Regions from separate parts of the Homo sapiens genome. Here region 1 is linked to region 2. The links are contacts of gene promoters, found by promoter capture Hi-C in human tissues and cell types (Jung and others, 2019). All regions are on one chromosome and are shown on one strand. Each heading gives the region's core, a stretch centred on a gene start or on the middle of the fragment in contact. The rest is flanking DNA. Distances are from core to core; before and after follow the strand shown. Region 1 overlaps BPTF (bromodomain PHD finger transcription factor). Region 2 holds the start of AMZ2 (archaelysin family metallopeptidase 2).

Region 1 (3,411 bases), core at 550-3,049, 270 kb after region 2:
GAGATGGCATCATTGCACTCCAGACTGGGCAACAACAGTGAAACTCCATCTCAAAAAAAAAAAAAAAGAAGTATGTTTTTCAAAAATTACTTCTGAAGGACTAAAGCTCTGTAGTTGATGAAACTATAAAATGTCTATGTATTTGTATGGTGATAGAAACTATACAACACTTTATACCGTTAAATACACATATGAAATTAACATCTTCCTGGTTTCAGATTTCCATAAAATTTATCCTTTTTGTACAATTTGGCAAGGCTAACAGCTATAGAAAACATATTAACCAACCAACCATTGCTTCATTAGAAACTGCACCAAATCCAATGTCAAAAACATTACTTTATTTTTCTAGGATGAAATGTCCTATTACGTACAAAAGAATTGCTGTTTAGAATTTGCCACAATTTGTTAAAAACATAGCAATCTATTGCCTACAGGTAGGAAAGTTCTTGCTGCAACAAATTTTAAATGATTAAGCCCATATATATTTATATATATGAATAAATAGTACAGAAATACTGTGACGTGATGAGATGCAGAATAATTTTATAACTCATTAAAATGTAGAATTCTTGCATCAGCACAGTGCATACAATATGTAACATTTTTTAAAAAAGTAAAAGGACAAAATAACCCATATTTAACTACTTCCATCTTAATACTTTAAGCAAAAATTTTTTCATGTTTTCATATTGAGCGATTAGTCTTTAGTTTGTAAGCATAAGTTTAAGTGACATCTTTATGTACAAAAAGGAATGGGCTTCATTAGATAAAATTAACCCAGAATAACCTGTACACCTGAGCCTGTAATAAGAAAGAATCGGGAACTGTAGCAACATCTTTCTTTTAAGAAACTGAGGTCTGGGAAAGGTTTTGCATAGCAGGGAAACATTAAAAGGAAAGAAACTTTGAAAAACAATAATTAGATAAATTCCAGAAGTTGGTAGGACAAAGCTAATATGAGTTAGTGCAAAATCTAGTAAAAATTTTTGCAAAGCTGCATAATCCAACTATGGCAGATTTTATAGAAGCTATTACCACAATGCAGTGATACAACGTGTAAGAACACTGAAAGGAAAAACATGCAAAATACATCTTCCTCTGTGGTTTCCATTTTCTCGCTACTGTTTACACTACTTTTCCTTACGTGGAAGAAACAAACAAACCAACAAACAGAAAACAAACCCAATCAACAAATAACACAGAGGATGAGGTCATCTAAAAAATGCCCTTCATAAAATATAAGTAGCTGTGTGTAATTGGTAATTTGCCTGGTATCACAGAATGTACAGATGAAGGCAATGTGTATCTTGTCGCATTACCGTTCTCGTTAGTATGATCAACTGATGCAACAGGATTAGCACCCCTGAAGATTTTTCTCTGACGTGATGACAATGGACTGGGAATGATAAAACGAGGGGCCACTGCTGTCCTGGAGAAATCCAGGCACAATTAGACTCTTCTGCCTTTCATGACCTTGCAGGCCTCCCTCCCCACAAAGGCTTACAGATAATCATTAGCGCACATTCAAAGACACCTCTGTCTGTGGGAGAAAAATTATCTCCATTTATTTTGTTTCATATACATCCATAGTTGAATTTTAATACAAAAGAAAAAAATTAGAATCTGACAAATGTTTACAAACAAGATACCTTCAAATAGATTTTACTCATTTTAGCCTGGTGCAGAGTAATTGACAAATTGTACTGTTATATTCAAGGCAACAGAGTCTGTAGTCCAGGACCACTTAGCCCAACCTTTATGCAAGCTTAATTTTAATCTACCATGAACAATAAACTCATTGTTGATTCCCAGTTGTGTGTGTGTGCACATGTGTACATAGCAGCTCCTTTCATAGAAAGAAAAGACATCTAGAGGTCGTCTTGTACTTTTACCTACAGGAATCATGATAAGATACAGATGATTATATGTAACCGGGGCTGGATTTTATAAGAAAAAATAATTAGCTGACAAATGAGGGCAGCAATAAAAAAGCGTCTTTTTTGCAACAATAAATAAATACAGTCAAAAGTTTTCTGTGAGACTCTAAACCAGCTTCTTCACTGAAGAGCAGACGTGGCATTTCCATGGAGTTACACTTGACCCCATAGTATCTTTTTTTCTTGCTTTCTTTTTCTTTTTTTTTCAATAAACAAAGTTTTCTCGCTTCTGCCACAATAGTAAAACCATCTGATCTTGACAAGATAATGGTGTCGTTGACTTTGCTTTTTTCTTGTCCGTTGGACAAAATTGGCCAAGAATATAATTGGACTGTTATGACCAATAAAAACGAAGTTTAGGTCAAGTCTTGTCAGGATAGCCTGACTAAAAACATCTGGCTCCTTAATTTAAAATAGTTCAGACAACCAGATTCTTGCTGTGTTTTATGTTAGGTTAACACGCTGAACTTTAAGAAGCTGTAGACTGCAGTTTGTTGTTATGAGACCTACAGAATATAGAAAAAAGGGAACAATTAAGCACCCTTCATTTTTGAAAACAATGATGCTTTATGCGGATGCCAAGGTCAGTCAGTCTGGGAGAAGCAGCCATGTTCTTTCATTCACCCTTGGCAAGCGAATAGAAAAGAACGATTAAGAAAATTTTAACCTATAATATTAAAACTTTTCACTGTACACTAAACATAATAGCTCACTGGAAAAAGCCAATATTTAAATATATATATATATATATATATATATATATATATATATATTTGTCTAATAAAGATTACAACATTTTCAGCCAACTGGACAAATAGAGGCATTTACAGAAGCATTACCATTGTGGTGAAAGGTGTGTGTGTGTGTGTGTGTGTGTGTGTGTGTGTGTGTTTATTTACATTGATGAGGGGAATATAAAGGGAAAAATTACGCTAAAACAAAAGAAAAAGCAATCTTAAAATCACATTTTTCTATTAAAGTCCAGAAAGTCTCCCTTCTAGTTTCACAGTTTTATTCACAACTTTCATTAGTAAACCAAATTACTGTACAGTTACCAGGACTAAGTCAAAGGACTTTATATTGAAATAGCAGATAAATACAGTATTCCAAGAGTTTACAATTTTTAAATACATTGTTCAACATGGCTGCTAGAGTAAATTTTTTACCACGATACATCTTTAACATTAAAAAATTATATTAACTAATCTGACTTTTTGGGGGGCAATTTTGAATTAGGTAATCACGAGGTACAATAAAACAAAGAGTGACCCCAACATCCAGTTCTGATTCCAGTTAAAAATTCAGACTAAAGATATCACAATCTGTAAGAAAAGAAAGAATATGGATGGTATAAATGATGAATTATAACAAAGTGCAGTAATGAAAACAATGTGCAAACAATGCTGGAGATCATAAAATGGGAAAATATGGCAAAGGAAATTCTGAAAATCCATAAATAAATCAATTTTCA
Region 2 (3,688 bases), core at 165-2,664:
ATGTGCACTTGTAGTCCCAGCTACTTGGCAGGCTAAGATGGGAGGATCATCTGAGCCCAGGAGGTCGAGGCTGCAGTGGGCCGTGATCGTGCCACTGCAGTCCAGCCTGGGCAATAGAGACTCTGTCTCAAAAAATAATAATATGAATTAACTCATCAGTGCCACATGAAAAATACTCATCGTTTCTAATGTGACTCAAAGATCTTCAACATCAAATAAAAACAAAACTAATGTAAGCCCTATCATTTCTGCAATTTAACTGCAGGCTGAGAAACTACAGCTTAGCCACTGAAGTTTATGGCCTCAAAGTCATGTCACATTAGGGAAGACATCAGATGACTAATCAAAAGCCAGCCTCACAATGACAGGTTTCTTCCATTCACATCGTGTTCCTATATAGAGCTTTCATCCTTCCTCTTGAATGGGTCCGATGTTCCACCACGAGGCTTTTTGAATTAAGGAAAAAGTTGAACATCTCTGTCTGGATCATCTTTGTCATATTTTCTAATTATTTAGATTTTGCCAGTTTAATGATAGACGATTGATGGGAAAACTTAAGCTAATGTCTGTTCTGATTGAACCTATAAATTCTGGGGTTGAAGAGGCTGACTAAAATTCCAGACCAAATGTCTCTGTACTCAAAGCTCTGATATAAGCATAGGCTCATCCTCACTCCTACACAACTGGGCTGAAATCTGACTTCTACAGGACAAAATATAAAACAAGATGTACCTTCCTGTAGTCTACCTACCTTGATTAGGAAGGAAGGCTCCCATGGAAGCTTTTAACTTACAAGGACGGACATGTCTGGGCCTGGCTGGAAGAAAGTTGTGGAGTGTGACTTCATCTTAATATTAAAAAGGCAGTGTGAAAGGTCAGGAGGCCTCCTCTTGCCTCCCAAGCCTAATCTAGGGAAGCTGCGGGAGAAGATGGGCAGGGGGCGCAGAATTCGGTCACTGCAGTGGGCTGGAGGCCTAGGATGCTTTGGTCCCAAAACCAGAACATCACGGGCAAACGGGAAGGAGCTGGCCACCCTGGCTGGTTGCCTATAGCAACTCGCACTGTGGGCTCTGGTCCATGCAGACACAACCCAGTCTCCAGCTGGGAGTGGAGTGGGGGTTCCCCAGGGACTCTCGCTTCGCCTCTTCTTCCCCAGGAGCCTCGGGAAAGGCCTCCCTGGCTCCCTAGAGGCACCGACCCCGCGGACCCCGCGGCTTCCGCCACGTCCGCCCCTCCTACATCCTCATCCCGCTCCACCGACCGCGACCGGCCCCCGCCTCTACGACCCGGCTACCCTGCCTAGGGGCCCCGGCCCAGCTCTGACAGCACCCGCGAACCGCCCTGACCCGACAGGCCTCGATACCACCCACCCGCGGCAGCCCTCACGCGCATGCGCACCGCGTCCCTTCGCACTGCGCCACGCCACGCCCACTGGCGCCACGCCCCTTACGCCACGCGCCGCGCCGCTGCGTCGCGCACGCCCTGTGGGCCCCGCCCAACTCACGACCCACCCATGCCACGCCCCTGAGCGTGCGGCCGCCTGGGCAGGCGCAGAGCTGGAGTTCAGCGGCCGCGACCCGCCTCTTCCAGAATAGAGGGTAGCGAGGGGACTACAAGCCCCAGCTGTCCACCCCCGCAGTCGCCGATTCCTCGCTTGCGCTCGCGGCGGCTCCGCGGCCCGGTTCTCGAGAGCCACAGATGCGCCCGCGTCGCTGGGGTCTCCCGTGTGGGAACGTCCTCGGCAGGCCGCGGGTTTGAGAGGCATCGCCGGCGTGACGAATGCAACCAGCGTGGCCCCAAATGAGTCGGCGGCCGCCGCAGGTTGACGTAGAGCCGCAGCGCTCCCCGGGGCCGTCACCCTCAGCACTTTCCCTTCTTTATTTGTTGGGGGCCGCGGGGGCTGGAACCCAGAAGCGCAAGTGTGGGGCGCGTCCTCGTGGCGTCCCTGGCGCTCCGAGGCCGAAACCCGGATGCTGAGGGGAGGCCGTGAGCTCGGAAAGGCACCGCGGGGCCGGCATTAGGGCTGAGCTAGCTCTGTACCCTCTGGTGGGACTTTCGGTCTCTCTGGGCCTCGCCATTCTCTTTCTTTTTCTTGCTTTTTTTTTTTTTTTTTTTTTTTTGGAGACGGAGTCTTGCTCTGTTGCCCAGGCTGGAGTGCAGTGGGACAGTCTGGGCTCAGTGCAACCTTTGCCTCCTGGGTTCAAGCGATTTTCCCGCCTCAGCCTCCCCAGTAGCTGGAACTACAGGTGCCCGCTATCACGTCCGGCTAATTTTTGTTATTTTTAGTAGAGATGGGGTTTCACCATGTTGGCCAGGCTGGTCTCGAACTCCTGACCTCAAGTGATCCGCCCGCCTTGGCCTCCCAAAGTGCTGGGATTACAGGCGTGGGCCACCGCGCCCGGCTTTTTTTTTTTTAATACGGGTTTTCACCCTGTTACCCAGGCTGGTCTCGAACTCCTGCGCTCAGGTGATCCACCCCCCCGCACCCCGGTCTCCCACAGTGCTGGAATTACAGGCGTGAGCCACGGCGCCCGGCCTGTTATTTTGAAGTCAAGCTATTTTACCATCCTCTGGATTTTCGTCATCCTAATTCTCCTTCCCAGTCTCAAGGAAAGACAGGCACATTTTCTTGATGACTTCAGCATTTGTAACCCCTTGTTGGCTCTCCTTAGAGGACATTAACTCTGAACCTTTCAACTTCGAGGATCTCTTTAGCCCTTCCTTATTTGTTCACTCTCCTGGATCATGAATTCTCCAAATTTGTCCTTTGAACCCAGTGCCCATATCCACCCTCACCTGAACCCATTCTTGAATAAAATGCATTCCTACCATGACTGTTCTCAAAGTTTGAAGTTGAGAATACCGATGCGCCACTCCTGCTTCAATGCTTGAGAAGTCGTGGGCTTTCTTCCATGTGCCTTTTGACTGGGCGCCTATCTCCCGACAGCCTGAGGTGGTGTAGCATAGGGGCGAAGGTGGTCTGTGCTTGAATCCCAAAACCCTCACTAGCGTGGGACCTGTGTCAACTACTTGACCTCTTTTGTAAAACGGAGACAATTACAGCACATCTTTTTTTATTATTATTACTTGACACGAAGTCTCGCTCTGTCATCCAGACTGGAGTGCAGTGGTGCGATCTCGGCTCACTGCAACTTATGCTTCCTGGGTTCAAGCGATTCTCGTGCCTCAGTCTACAGAGTAGCTGGGACTACAGGCACACACCACCACGCCCGGCTAATTTTTTTTTTTTTTTTTTTTTTTGTATTTTTAGTAGAGACAGGGTTTCGTCATGTTAGCCAATTTTTGTATTTTTAGTAGAGACGGGGTTTCACCATGTTGGCCAGGCTGGTCTTGAACTCCTGACCTCAGGTGATCCACCTACTTCGGCCTCCCAAAGTGCAGGGATTACAGGCGTGAGCCACCGCGCCCCACCTACAGCACATCTTAACAGAATTTTAGGGATCAAATGAGTTCCTTTGGATACTGTGCCTGTTTTTGACTGAACAGCTGTCTTCTGACATCCTGAGTGGCTTCTTTAGCTTAGTTGTCACCTCTTCTATAGCCTCATCCTGCCTCATGACAAAACTTTACTTCTGCCTGTTCATTGCCTTGTGTGTACATAATAATACTGCAGTTGTCCTTGTCACAATGATTGTAACCTATTTCTTACATGTCACCCTTACTCAAC

Evidence for each region. The method cuts DNA at HindIII sites, captures the fragments that hold promoters and counts their contacts. A contact is called where the count stands out against the background at its distance.
Region 1: a contact is called between a fragment that was not itself captured here and the fragment with the promoter of AMZ2 in region 2, in 1 of the 25 tissues and cell types used here (hippocampus).

The regions. Positions count from the first base shown.
Region 1 is chr17:67,981,287-67,984,697 of GRCh38, reverse strand. It overlaps BPTF (bromodomain PHD finger transcription factor), which reads right to left. Exons shown (of 28, transcript NM_182641.4): 28 at 320-2,446. The coding sequence ends at 2,410. Among named protein-coding and RNA genes, the nearest start is that of C17orf58, 13 kb to the left of the region's middle. The HindIII fragment of the contact is 8,005 bases long and covers 1-3,411 here.
Region 2 is chr17:68,245,769-68,249,456 of GRCh38, reverse strand. AMZ2 (archaelysin family metallopeptidase 2) reads right to left here and starts at 1,414. Exons shown (of 7, transcript NM_016627.5): 1 at 752-1,414. RefSeq lists a silencer at 1,288-1,587 and enhancers at 1,802-2,347, 2,348-2,894. The HindIII fragment of the contact is 21,931 bases long and covers 1-3,688 here.